Regions from separate parts of the Homo sapiens genome. Here region 1 is linked to region 2. Evidence: promoter capture Hi-C in human tissues and cell types (Jung and others, 2019). All regions are on one chromosome and are shown on one strand. Each heading gives the region's core, a stretch centred on a gene start or on the middle of the fragment in contact. The rest is flanking DNA. Distances are from core to core; before and after follow the strand shown. Region 1 overlaps LOC105374739 (a long non-coding RNA gene). Region 2 holds the start of C7 (complement C7).

What was found. Contacts are between HindIII fragments. The study calls those that stand out against the background at their distance.
Region 1: a contact is called between a fragment that was not itself captured here and the fragment with the promoter of C7 in region 2, in 2 of the 25 tissues and cell types used here (H1 embryonic stem cells and IMR-90 fibroblasts).

The regions. Positions count from the first base shown.
Region 1 is chr5:41,081,290-41,088,329 of GRCh38, reverse strand. It overlaps LOC105374739 (a long non-coding RNA gene), which reads right to left. Exons shown (of 6, transcript XR_001742650.2): 2 at 5,751-5,809; 3 at 5,297-5,357. Among named protein-coding and RNA genes, the nearest start is that of MROH2B, 13 kb to the right of the region's middle. The HindIII fragment of the contact is 3,271 bases long and covers 968-4,238 here.
Region 2 is chr5:40,907,847-40,915,462 of GRCh38, reverse strand. C7 (complement C7) reads right to left here and starts at 5,966. Exons shown (of 18, transcript NM_000587.4): 1 at 5,847-5,966. The coding sequence starts at 5,852. It also overlaps the pseudogene RNU7-161P. The HindIII fragment of the contact is 9,186 bases long and covers 18-7,616 here.

The DNA.
Region 1 (7,040 bases), core at 1,354-3,853, 180 kb before region 2:
TTCACTGCATTTTTTTCCAAACTCCTATATTTTCCCAAATAATTCCGCTCTCACCTCACACTTATAATCCTCAAAAAGAAAAACAAAAGTCTTGTTACTAACCAGCCCCAGCCTGGAAAGAGCACATTAAAGATTATCATTAATAATTATGCTTAGAGCCTATCCCTTGATATCTTGCTTCTCACACTAAAACATATGTTTCATCAGCTAGCCTATGTGTGGTTCTCCTTGTATATCATTACACTAGGATTTTTTAAACAAAGAAAATGTGTTACCAAAAATTTTATTATCAAAACAGCATCAAAGTTATTGTGTGTGTGTATGCATGCACATACTCGCAGGTATACATGAATATATGCATCTGTACATCTTTGATCAAGAAGCCCAAAAGCTTAAATAAGAGTTGAAAAAATGAATACCTTTGAGAGCTTCTGAATTAAATAAAATGATAATTCAACATGGAGTAAAACTAATAAATTAGGACAATAATATAAAGTATAGTCTCTATTTGAATTTATCTTTTATAACCCAAACTAATTTTATCATCCTGCCTCTACTCTCATTCACTGTTCATGATTTACATATGGAAGACTGACTAACAGAAGAAAAATGTTATCAAACATGGGAAGTAAGTGGCTACTTCTGGCTCCCACAGATCTTTAGTCATAGTTCCAGATTTAGGCTTGTGGCAATCTTACGTATCCTTAAACGTTGGGAACATGACAGAATTATTATTCTAATAGATACCATAGATGCTCTATTTGAAAGATATTCACAGTCCTTTTCTTCCTTACCTTCCTCTTTTGAGAAGCATTGAAACTACTAAAATACATGGTTTCCCAACCTACACTGCAGTGAAGAGTGGCTATGTGACCAAGTTCTTACCAACAATATGTGAATGAAATTCACTGTGAATGTCTTCTCTTTCCAAATTGAAAATGTAAACTCCCACATGAAGAAAGTTTTGTATTTTACCTTCTTCCTGCCTGGAATGCAAACATGAGCTCTGGATATGTAGCAGTTATCTTGTAACTAAAGGTCAAATAACATGCTAAAGATAGTAAAAAAGAAAAAGAGCATAGATCCATAATACATTACTGAAGAGCTGTTTTAGCCCAGGCTACCTGTCTCCAGGTGAGCTTTGTACAAGAAAACAAAAACATTATAGATTTAGGCAACTGTTGAGTGCTTTCTGAGTTTGTTTTTTGTTTGGGGGTTCATTATTTGGGGTTTTGGTGGGAGGGGAAGGGAAACATATTCCCAACTTATACGCTACTATTCCTGGGAGCAAAATAGGTAGCAGAAGTTCATAAGACTAGAACAGCATAAATACATATAAGAATCTTGGCAGACTTCTGATGCTGACAAAGATAAAGTAACAGGAACTGAATTTACCCTTCCACTGAAACAACTGAAAAAAAAAAGCAACCCAGATTCTTATAGTCTAAGAAATATCAGCTTTCAGACACTGGACACCATTGATGCAGGAATTGATCTCTGAGAGAGGGAAAAACTATGAGGTTAGCCCCAATGATTGCCCAAGCTTACTTTCTGGAGAAAGTTTCTAAGTTTCAGCACAGGAAAGAGAAACCAGAAGGAGGCTGGAGGTATCCTTGAGTTGGAGAGATGGAGCTGGGAGTCTGGGAATGGCAAAGTGGATACAGTTTAAGTGGAAGAATACTGGACAGGAGAGAGGTGCATACAGAGAAAACTCTGAAGATCTCCAGAGTGTTCCCCTCTAGAATTCAGTTGAGTACCTACTAGGATATGCATATAAGGAAAACTGAAGCTGGGAAACAAACCATGCAAAAAGAAAAGAATCAATAATCTCCAAAGTTCACACAGGTTTAGGAATAACTCATATTTTCAACCAGCCAGAGTGGAAAGCTTTATATTTCATGGGACATCAGATATACTCAAAAGAATATACCAAATTAGCCTTATATTAAGATTGTCTGGTCCCTACATTTTACAAAACTTACAAGCAAGCTTCGAAAGGATCAAATTGTTTCAAAATAACAAGTGAATCACAGAACAAAGCTCAAGAGTATCTAACACCCAACAAAATAAAATTCACAATATCTACTATCTAATGGAGGGAAAGCATTCAAAAAAGCAGAAAATACAATCAACAATAATAAGAAAAAACAAATGGAAGCATATTAAGAAATGACACAGATGATAGAATTAATAGACAAGAACATTAAAACAGTCTTTATAACTCTATTACAGATACTAAAGAAGCTAGAGGAAAAATTGATCCAATTAGATAGAGACACAAAAGGTATATATAAGGTCTCCAAATAAAACTTCTAGAAATGAAAACAATTGTGTGAAATAAAAAATACAGGCCAGTCACAATGGCTCACACCTGTAATCCCAGCACTTTGGGAGGCCAAGACAGATGGATCACTTGATGTCAGGAGTTTGAGACCAGTCTGGCCAACATGGTGAAACCCCGCCGCTACTAAAAATATAAAAATTAGCCAGGCATGGTGGTGGGCGCCTGTAATCCCAGCTACTGGGGAGGCTGAGGCAGGAGAATCGCTTGAACCCAGGAGGTGTAGGCTGCAGTGAGATGAGATGGCACCCCCGCACCCCAGCCTGGGCAACAGAGTGAGACTCCATCTGAGGACAGAAAAACAAAAAATACACCAGGTGGTACATCAGTTTAGACAATGCTGAAAGAAATATTGGAGACAAAGCAATAGAAAATATCCAAAATAAAATACAAAAGGATGAAAAATTAACAGAGCATCAGCGAGTTATAAGTCAACTTCAAGTGGCCTACTATACGTATCACTGGAGTCCCTGATGAAGTGAAGCAGAAGAAAGAAGAGGAGATAAAAATAAAATTGGAAACATACTGGCTAAAATATTTCCAAATTTGATAAAAATTATAAATTAACATATTCAAGCAACTTACTAAACTTCAAACAAAAGAAACATGAAGAAAAGTACACCAAGCTGCAACATAACCAAATTGCTTAAAATAAGTGATAAAAAGAACCTTAAAACTCAGCTAGAACAAAAACTACACATTACATACATAACACTTTCTCTTAAAATTAGCCCTATGTTAAGATTGTTTGGTTCCAACATTTTACAAAGCTTACAAGCATTTTCTTAAAAGCAGAAATCATAATATTAAGACCTCAATGAGCAGAAAGTTGCTGGAATGATGTGGTCTCATTAGGCTGTTTTGGTATAATTATGTCAACAAGAGCAATAACAGCAAAAATGCCAGATAACAAATAATGCTAACTTGGTACAACATATTTTCTTTGCATTATTCACTTAATCTATACAACTAACAATCTTACAGATGATGTAACTAAGGCTCAGATGGATTAAATAATCTTACTGGTAAAAAAATCTCTAATATTAATGGATATATATCTACTTCCTCTTTTAGTAAGTACAAACTATGGAAATGAGTGCCAGGTTTATCTTTCTAAGCTTCTGTACTCATTTCTGTGCACTACAGAAGCAGATGAAGAGTTACATATATGAATACTAGCACCAGCAATGAAAGTTATGTTTTGTTTTAGATCTACTTTATTTTTTATTTGCTTCTTTTCCAGCAAATATTCCTATGATATTTGAACACTATTGGTAACCAGAAAATTTACTATTTGAAACTGTATCTAATATTTTACTATCACTTTTTGATTTAAATGTTTTTGAACAGTTTCACCTAACAAAGTATTTCTATAAAACTTAATGACCATTTCTAGGATTCTAAAGTCTCTAACTGTAACATGAGAATATTCACATTTTTATGGCACATCTAGAGGCCATTGAAACTACCAAAAGCAGGAATCAAAAGTATGTTTTTAATCCTATAAAAGTAAACAAAAGACAATGGGAACATGTTTATTTCTTTTTTAAAAAAGGAAAAAAAATTCAAAATGTAAGAGAATCATTCAGAGGCAATGAAATTGTATTTTAATCCTTAAAAATATAATACTAATAACTTTTTCTTCTAAGATTATTTACCTGGGCAATTATGAGATCCAAGTCATTCATTATAAGAAGTTGAGATAATGAAAGTATCCTCCTTTGAATTGTTTAGCTGCCATAAAAAGTGAGTTCTTCAGTTAAAAAAAAAAACAAAAAAAAAAACACGATGTCTCATGTCTCATTTCTCACTAACATGACTTACAGGTCCAGGAGCTGACACTTAAAATCTAGTCCTAAAAGTTCTGGCCAAGGTATAATGAGCTCCAAAAAGCAGAAGGCCCCAATTATCATGACGCCAAGCCACCAGGTAACGTCCTCAGAGGTAAAGGGCTCTGTTATTTCTCTCACTACCCCAAATTATAAAGATAGGCTGTTCTTTTCTCAGCAACTGTCAGTAGCAAAGCTAGATATGCCTAATAAAAGAGGCTCTGAGAAATACCATACTAGTAAATTACTTATCCACAGGGAATTTAATTTTCTATCACTTGAGAGTGAAATCATTTTTTAAATCATTTGCAAATTCTAGAGGGATTAATTTTTTTTTTTTCTTTTGAGACAGGGTCTCGCTCTGTCTCCCTGGCTGAAGTGCAGTGATGCAATCACAGCTCACTGCAGCTTCTCTCCTGGACTCAAGTAATCTCCCCAACCCCCGCCCCCCACCCCACCCCGCGCTTGGTCTCAACCTCCTGAGTAGTTGGGATGACAGGCACGCACCACCATGGTGGGTGGGCTACTTTTTTTTAATTATTTTTTGTCGAGACGGGGTTTCACCATGTTACCCAGGCTAGTCTCAAACTCCTGGGCTCAAGTGATCCTCCAACCGAGGCTCCCCAAAGTGCTCAAATTACAGGTATGAGTCACCATGCCTGGCCAAGATTATATTCTTAAGCTCTTTCTAAATTCCTAAAGGGATAACTTTCAAACCATTCTCTCAATTTTAAAGTGCAGCATGCTTGATGACATACAGAAAAGTAGCTATTGTTTACACTTTCATATTAGCAATTTATAGCTTATATCTCTCGAGGATTTTTAATCAAGAAACATTAACCAAAGCTTGGTCATTGTATTAAGCTTTGAGGTGTATTATCCTGCCTTACCTTATTGTCCACAGCAATGGCTGCTGTGCATTCAGTCCTTAGAGAGTTCTCTAACCTCCTGTCCCTACATCACTGGCTGCTGCTGTCATTGCAAGGGAAAAGGAAATCTTCATACTGGGTTTATATGGGGAAAGGTGTAAGAAATTCCTTATTCACATAAGATTTGTTTTAGTCCATTTTGTGATGCTATAACAGAATGCCACAGACTGGGTAATTTATAAACAATATATACTTACTTCTTAATATCCTGGACGCCTAGTTTAATACCAAAGTACGAGAATCTGGTGAGCCTTCTTGCTGTATCATCCCATGGCAGGAAATAAAAGATCAAAAGAGCACACACATTCAAGAAAGATGAGAGGGGTTGGGAAAAGGGGAACAAACTCATCCTTTTCTTAGGAACCCACTCCCTTGGTAACCACATTAATCCATTCATGAGGTCAGAGACCTCATGACCTAGCTAATCACGTCTTAAAAGTCCCATCTCACAACACTGTTGCATTGGGATTAAATTTCCAACACATAAACTTTGAGAGATGTATTCAAACCATGCATAGCAAGGTTCCAATATTTTAAAGTTATAATTTTGCTGCTTTAGAATTAGAAAGAGCATTGCAAATGTTTTTAGTGGTACAAAGAATGTGAAAACAAAGTTGCTTGGCAGAGGAAATGATCCTTAGGTCAACTAACCTTATCTCCTCTTTTTTCAGGTATCAGTCCAGGGACTGGTGTATTTGTCTGTTCTCACACTGCAAATAAAGACATACCTGAGACTGGGTCATCTATGAAGAAAAGAGGTTTGATTGACTCACAGTTCCATGTGGCTGGGGAGGCCTGACAATCACAGCAGAAGGAGAAGGAGGAGCAAAGTCACATCTTACATGGTGGCAGGCAAGAGAGGATGTGCAGGGGAACTTCCCTTTATAAAACTGTCAGATCTCATGAGACTTATTCACTATCACAAGAACAGCACAGGAAAGACCCACCCCCATGATTCAATTACCTCTCGCTGGGTGCCTCTCACAACACATGGAAATTATGCAAGCTACAATTTAAAATGAGATTTTAGTGGGGCCACAGCCAAACCATATCAACTGGGTTGATTTTCCCACAGTAATAAAACTAGTTTGAAGCAGAATCTAAAGGTAATTCAAGTTTCTGAACTTGAAGTCTCATACTGTTTCTCCTCTTCTTTTTTTATTTCAGATATGAAGCCTGCTCTATTAAAAGGATGTTGAATATATATTTTATCATAGTAACAGCTGAACACTATATATTTACAATAAAAAGCAATTGAAAACAATAACAGTCTAAATCTTGGTAAATCACAAGTTGAGAATCAAATCAAGAACTCAATTCCTTTTACAAAACAAAAAGAAAGAAAAAACCACCTTAGAATATACTTAACCAAGGATGTAAAATATCTCTACAAGGATAACTACAAAACACTGCTGAAAGAAATAGATGACACAAACAAATAAAAATCCATCCCATACTCATGGGTTACAAGAATCAGTATCATGAAAAGGTACATACTTCCCAAAGCAATCTACAGATTCAGTGCAATTCCTTATCAAAACACCAACATCATTTTCCACAGAATTAGGAAAAAAATCATAAAATTCATATGGAGCCAAAAAAGAACCCAAATAGCCAAGGCAATTCTAACCAAAAAGAACAAATCTAGAGGCATCACATTACCTGATTTCAAATTATACTACAAGGTTATAGTATCAAAACAGCATGGTACTTGTATAAAAGCAGATGCATAGACTAATGGAAGAGAATAGAGAAGCCAGAAATAAAGCCAAATACTTACCAACAACTGATCTACAGGCATACGAAAACATAAATTGGGGAAAGGACATCTTGTTTAATAAATGGTGCTGGGGAAACTGACTAGCCACATGTGGAAGAATGATATTGGATCCCCATCTCTCCCCATATACAAAAATGAACTTAAGATGAATTAAAGACTTA
Region 2 (7,616 bases), core at 4,717-7,216:
TTTCAGAAAACAATCTATTATAATATTCAAACTTCAATTTATCCTCCAATTTTAAATCTGTCTCTCTTACTTTCAGTTTCTGAGTGCTTGTAATGAGGGAGGAGTGGGTCCACTTCAAAATTGCGCCACCTGACTCCTCTTCCCCACCTCCCCAAGCTGCCTCTTTCCTCTCCAAAATCAGAGCAACAGGAATGAGAGAGACAAGAGTAAAACAGAATCTTGCTTGACTGATCCAGTTGGAGTCTGGTGATGGCAAATCAATGTGTTAGACGTTTGACTGCTGATTCTTTATCTCTCCCAGTGTTTTTGTGGTTCTTTGGACGTCTTCCTACTACTCTGTAGCCACTGTACTCTGGCACAAATGATTCATCCCTTTGTTAATCACTTTCGATTCTCACCCATGCCTGCTTCCTGGGGGTCCTTTCCAAACTGATGCTATTTCTTGGGGTTGCTTCATCCTGCAGTCAAGCACTCTCTCAGGCAGTGTCTCTGACAGTCCAAATCTGGTTCCCTTTTAACCATCCATATGCGGGCCATGGGATCCCTGCACACATCCGTGTCCTGCCAAACTCTGAATGTCCGCGCTGTAACTGATACTGCTGGGTTTATTTACTCTGCTAAAGGAGGTCTGTACCTTTACATTTTCTCAAATGTGCATAGGGTAGCATTTCCTATATCTCCGATGCACAATCTTGTATTCTCTTGAGAATAGGGATGGCCCAAGGGTTACCAAACAGATTTGGGAATACTCTCTTTGTAATATTGCATAGAATGTCTAGCATCTCACTTTAAAATGTGAAGGTCCTCCTGTCTCTCACCTTATACAAAAATCAACTCAACATGGATTGAAAACTTAAATGTAAGACCTGAAACTATAAAAACACTAGAAGAAAACCTAGGGAAAACTCTTCTGGACATTGGTCTAAGCCAAGAATTCATAACTAAGGCCTCAAAAGCACAAGCAACAAAAACAAGATTAGACAAATGGAACTTAATTAAAATTAAAAGCTTCTCTACAACAAAAGAAATAATCAACAGCGTGAACAGACAACCTACAGAATGGGAGGAAATATCTGCAAATTATGCATCTGACAGAGAACTAATATCCAGAATCTACAAGAAACTCAAACAATGATAACAACAAAAACAACAACAACAAAAACATTAAAAAGTGGGCAAAGGACATGAATAGACATTTTTCAAAGACATACAAATGGCTCACAAGCATATGAAAATGTGCTCAACATCACTAATCATCAGAGAATTAAATTAAAACCACAAGGAGATATCATCTTACACAGTCAGAATGGCTACTATTAAAAAGTAAAAAAACTGGCTGAATGTGATGGCTCACACCTGTAATCCCAACACTTTGAGAGGACAAGGCAGGAGGATTGCTTGAAGCCAGAAGTTTGAGACCAGCCTAGGCAACATAGTAAGACTCTGTCTCTACAAAAAATAATTCTTAAAAAATTATTTGGGGCGGTCGGACGCAGTGACTCACGCCTGTAATCCCAACACTTTGGGAGGCTGAGGCGGGCAAATCATGAGGTCAGGAGATCAAGACCATCCTGACTAACACGGTAAAACCCCATCTCTACTAAAAATACAAAAAATTAACCAGGCATGTTGGCACGCACCTGTAGTCTCAGCTACTTGGGAGGCTGAGGCAGGAGAATCGCTTGAACCCAGGAGGTGGAGATTACAGTGAGCCGAGATCATGCCACTGCACTCCAGCCTGGGTGACAGAGCAAGACTCCATCTTAAAATATATAAATATACAAAATATACATATATATATATTTGCACATGGTGGCACATGCCCAGATAGTGCCAGCTACTCAGGAGGCTGAAGCAGGAGGATCACTTGAGCCCAGGAATTCAAAGGTGCAGTGAGCTATGATTGCACCATTACTCTCCAGCCTGGATAACAGAGCAAGACACCATCTCTCTTTAAAAATGTCAAAAAATAACAGTTGTTGGTAGGAATGCAGAGATAAGTGAGAATAGGGAATAGTATATATTCCCACCAATATATACTATTGGTGGGAATGTAAATTAGTACAACTTCCATAAAAAACAGTATGGAGATTTCTCAAAGAACTAAAAATTGAACTACCATCGGATCCATCAATCCCACTACTGGGTATCTACCCAAAGGAAAAGAAATCATTATATCAGAAAGATACCCGTACTCGTATGTTTATCTCAACACTATTCACAATAGCAAAGATATAGAAGCAACCTAAGTGTCCAACAACAGATGATTGGATAAAGAAAATGCAGTATATACACAATGAAATACTGTTCAATTTTTTAAAAAAGAATGAAACCATGTCTTTTGCAGCAGCATGGATGGAACTAGAGGCCATTATATTAAGTGAAACAACTTAGAAACATAAAATCAAGTACCTCATATTCTCACTTACAAGTAGGAGCTAAATAATGTGTACACATGGACAAAAAGTATGGAATAATAGACATTGGAGACTCAGAAGAGTTGGGGATAGAAAGGGGAAGAGTGATGAGAAATTACTTAATGGGTACAATGTACATTATTTGGAAGATAGATACACTGAAAGCCCAGACTTCAACACTACCCAATATATCCATGTAACAAAATTGCACTTGTACCCCTTAAATGTATACAAATAAAATAACTAAATGAATAAAATTTCCAAAAAAAACCATAAAATTTCAAAAAATCTTGAGTACTTGTTCTTGGCCTTTGACTCTCAGCCAAAATGTGGATAATGAAAATAATTATTTCTAACATTCTGTCACAGGTGTTTTAAAATAATTTCAGCCAGGTTTGGTGGCTCATGCCTGTAATCCTGGCATTTGGGGAGGACAAAGTGGTAGGATCACTTGAGCCCAGGAATTTGAGGCCAGCCTGTTGCAACAAAAAATACAAAAATTAGCCAGGCATGGTGGCGGGCACCTGTAGTCCCAGCTACTCAGAAGACTAAGGTGGGAGGATCACTTGAGCCCAGGATGTAGCAGCTGCAGTGAGCCATAATTGTACCACTACACTCCAGCCAGGGCAACAGAGCAAGATCTTGTCTCAAATTTAAAAGCATTTTTTAAAATAAAGAATTTCAATGAAATTTTAGGAAATATACTTTTTATCATCATGGATGCCTTTGTCATCACCTTCTTCATATACATACTCATTATAACCCATCAAGGTCTGCTTATTACAAGACCAGTTCTGTTCATGTTATACAAAGTGAATCTACTAACCAAAAGCATTTCTTGAAATTTGGCTAGCCTTAGGATAATTACCTTTGGAAAAAATACCTTATAAATGAACAAGAGAGATAGAACAAACACAAATAAATCATGTGAATGACAGTGATAGACATACATCTGAACTGACTCTATAAAAGAATTGCTTGGTTGAAGAAGTATGTGGGGCCGGGCGTGGTGGTTCATGCCTGTAATCCCAGCACTTTGGGAGGCCAAGGCAGGTGGATCATGAGGTCAGGAGTTCAAGACCAGCCTGGCCAATATGGTGAAACCCCATCTTTACTAAAAAAAAAAAAAAAATACAAAAATTAGCAAGGCATGGTGGCGCACGCCTGTAGCCCCAGCTACTCAGGAGGCTGAGGCAGAAGAATCGCTTGAACCCAGGAGGCGGAAGTTGGAGTGAGCAGAGATCGTACCTCTGCACTCCAGCCTGGGCAACAGAGTGAGACTTTGTCTCAAAAAAAAAAAAAAAAGAAAGAAAGAAAAAGTGTGTGGTATTTTTGTTCTGTGTCAATGTAGCTAAGCTGGAACTACATTCCCCTGAATTATCTTCTCCTCTTTATCATCAATGAATGAGCATTAGCTCTACCTCCTTCTTCCAGTATGTCCCAGCTACAATCCTGATTTGAGACATTACTGTGCTTGACCATCACTGTGCTTGGGCACTGTGACGACCATTCCCTAGATTCACAGGCCCCAAGCTCAGCTCTCTCCTGGAGGGACGGAACAAATGGCTGGGCCACAGCCAGCTCCGAGGGAAGTCCCTTGTCCCTGACATCCTTCTCCAACACCTCAGATCCAAGTTATTTCCTATCCAAGAACACAGAGAGAACCAAAGGGAATCCTGTGACTGTCTCTCTGAATTTAGTTCACGTGGGGGCTGTGGGGCCAAAACATTGCTTCCTCTTAAAAAGTCTGACATAGAAACCATTTCTAGCTTCTTGATAGCCCAAGGCTTTCACAAGTGTCCCTTCTTTGTCACATATCACCAAAGCATGTCCTTCAGGTTTACTGTAAAAATATGAATGTCCACTTTCAAATACAGGTAAGAACTCTACATGCGACTTGGAGTGAAATAATTGCTTTAGTGTTACAGTTGTTTTAGAACTTGTCTATCAGGCTTCCCAATTTTTGCTGGAAAGCCCCTATATGTAAAATTTTTAAAAAATTAATTGCTTTATTTGTTGATATTTTGTCAACTAATTAAAGGATAGAAGTATATTTATTATTACAGCAGTAAAATATTATAATAATGATTGTAAACATGTTTTTAAGCACAAAGCAATTATTAAGATTTCTTATTGTAAAATAAAGTAAAAGATTAATAGTTAACACAAATATTAGGAAAAAACATTTTGGCTAGATAACTTTCAGAAGAGCATCATTTTCTTTTCTTGTTTTTTTTTTGTTTTTTTTTTTTTTGAGAGAGAGTCTCACCTTATTGCCCAGGCTGGAGTGCAGTGTCTAGTGTTGCCATCTTTATGCCCATGAGTACCCAATATTTAGCTCCCACTTAAAAATTAAGAACATGGGGTATTTGATTGTCTGTTCCTGCGTTAATTTTCTTAGGATAATGACCTCTATCTGCCTCCATGTTGCTGCAAAGGACATGATTTCATTCTTTTTTATGACTGCCCATCATAACTTTAAACAAATTAACTTTGTTATTTGTGTTTAATTTTAATTATTTAATTTCACAGAAGGCATGGCTTAATCAAGATCCATATCTTGCTCCTCCTCTAACCCCAATAATGAGCGAGCTTGGATTCGGTGCCCCAATGGACAATACAGTGACTATGGAAGCAATCTAGCCACTGACAGATCTGTGAAATTATTCCTACAGTCTTACAATGCAACATTTTTAAAGTTTAAATACCAAAATTTACAATAATAAAATTTGAATAGCAATCTCAACTTATTTTTGCATTCCAGAGATTTAGTCTATGATAGCGATTTCTATCTTTGGTCTTATCTTTTGTTGAATAGCTTTTTGGTTGTGTTTTGTTTTGTTTTTTAATATTTGGCCTTTTTGCATTGGGCCAACATGTATACTTGGTAGACCTTTAGTTTTATTCCATCTACTCATATCTTCTATTCTCACAATGCTGACTCTTTCATCCAGGATTTCAAATTCTCAAGTTCCAAGCCTGCAAATTTGCTTTTCTATTAGCTCTTAGATAAATCGCAGGACCCTACTGCATGGCTCCTAATCCAAACAAGCAAAAAAAAAAAAAAAAAATACACCAGAGGAAAGTTTTTCCCAAGAAATAACAATAGTACTATTGTATTTCTTTATGACTTTATCGGGACTTTCATAAACATTGTCTCCAATTCCTGATTCCCAGACCTCTGGACCTATAATTTCACCACAAGATAAGAAAAAGGAATTCACTTTGGCTGAACTGTTAAATATGTTTAAATAAGGATTTCTAAACATCACCCCCAGGTCTTTTTCTTCTGTATTTTCCTCTGGCCTTCTATTTATTTGATGTCTTTCAGTTAGGTATTACACCTCTTCGTTTAAATTACATTTATATTACCCCCGTTCATTTGAAAAGATAGCTTCATTTACAAAAGTAATGAATTTATTGTCTTACCTTCATGTTTGGGAAAACATTCAGGGCAGAAGAGAGGAGGAAGATTTCCTCTGTAAGGGCCGGGTAAGTTTTCAACAGCAGGAAGAGCCCAGCAGGCTGCCTGCCTCTCTGCCTCTCCCTGCTCTAGATTATCTTGGCACTCATATATAGAGCAAGTGGTCCTGAGATTTAGCTCCTACCCCAACCGGATTCTCCAACGACAGCAAGAGCCTGACCTTGTACTTAATCTGTGCCTTGAAACCAGATGCATCTTATCAATTACACAGCCTTAGCTACAGCCAGCTGGGACTGTTTGGAAGTTATAGATATGTTTCTTAGAAACATATCTATAAATCAGGAAACACAGCAAATGTTCTCAGTTCAATGTTTAAGTGATTTTCAACCAAAGGAGACTCTGTAAGGCAAGGGATGAGCCTCCTTCTTGTTTCAATCTACTAAACTAAGTGGATGTTTTCATGATTCTCTTAAAAGGTGTTATATGCCAGACTTTGAGATTAAATATTTTATGAAAGAAAATATTTAAATGCAGTTCTGTCACTCAAAATCTAAATAGAATGTTCTGGAGTAGAATTTTTCCCCAAAGTACAGCCTAATACAACCCAATAGTCATCCCTTCATGCTTAACTTTCACAGAATAATCAGAAAGAATATCAATTTTTGTAAACATATTTGAGGACATCACTAATTTTCTCAAGAACTTCACTTAATCCTTTGATAATCAGATCACTGTGTTGGAAAGTTCTTCTCAGGGTCATTATCCACATCCATTTTCTCTCCTTTGCTTTTTATCTTGTCTTATTCTACCAGGTCTTTATTTTCCCATAGCTTTGCATTGATTCTAGCAAGTCCCCAACATCACCTTCATACATTTAATAAAATGCTGCTTATTTTGCAAGATTTTAGATTTCCTATTGAAACTGAGCTACAGTTGGCCAGGCGCGGTGGCTCATGCCTGTAATCCCAGCACTTTGGGAGGCCAAGGCGAGCGGACCAAGAGGTCAGGAGTTCGAGACCAGCCTGGACAATACAGTGAAACCCCGTCTCTACTAAAAACACAAAAAAATTAGCCAGGCATGGTAGCATGCACTTGTAGTCCCAGCTACTCAGGAGGCTGAGAGAGAAGAATCACTTGAACCCAGGAGGCGGAGGTTGCAGTGAGCTGAGATCGCACCACTGCACTCCAGCCTGGGAGACAGAGTGAGATTCCATCTCAAAAAAAAAAAAAAAAAAAAAATTGAGCTACAGTTTTATTTGTATTGTTGGACCAAATATTCTAACACTAGCTGCTAGTGCATTATGAGTGAGGTAGAATAAATGTTAAGCGGGAAAGAAAATTTGAGTTAAGAATAATTTTATAAGTAAACATTCCATTAGTGAAGATTTTCTAGCTTTAATGACTTTTTCTTCCTATATCCAAAGCACTGGAATAATAAAGACAACCCCTATCCTCCCCTCATAAATTAATGGTGGTTTCCAGAGACAAAGCTTCCGCATCTTTTGTTCAAAGCTTTAGTGATTTGTGTGGAAGAAATTTTGTCACAGAGACAAAGATCCTGACTCCTGAAAGAAATATTTTTTATTCAGCTCCAACTGCATAAATTCCAGATGCCATAGACTCATCTTAAATTCTCAATATACAATTCCATTTCAGCGGCTCTCTTAGTTTGGGTTCCCCCAGAAGTAGATTCAGAAACAAGAATTCAATTGCAAGTAGTTTGTTTTTGTTTTTGTTTTAAGAGATAATCTTAGAAAGCACCACTGGAAGTGGGA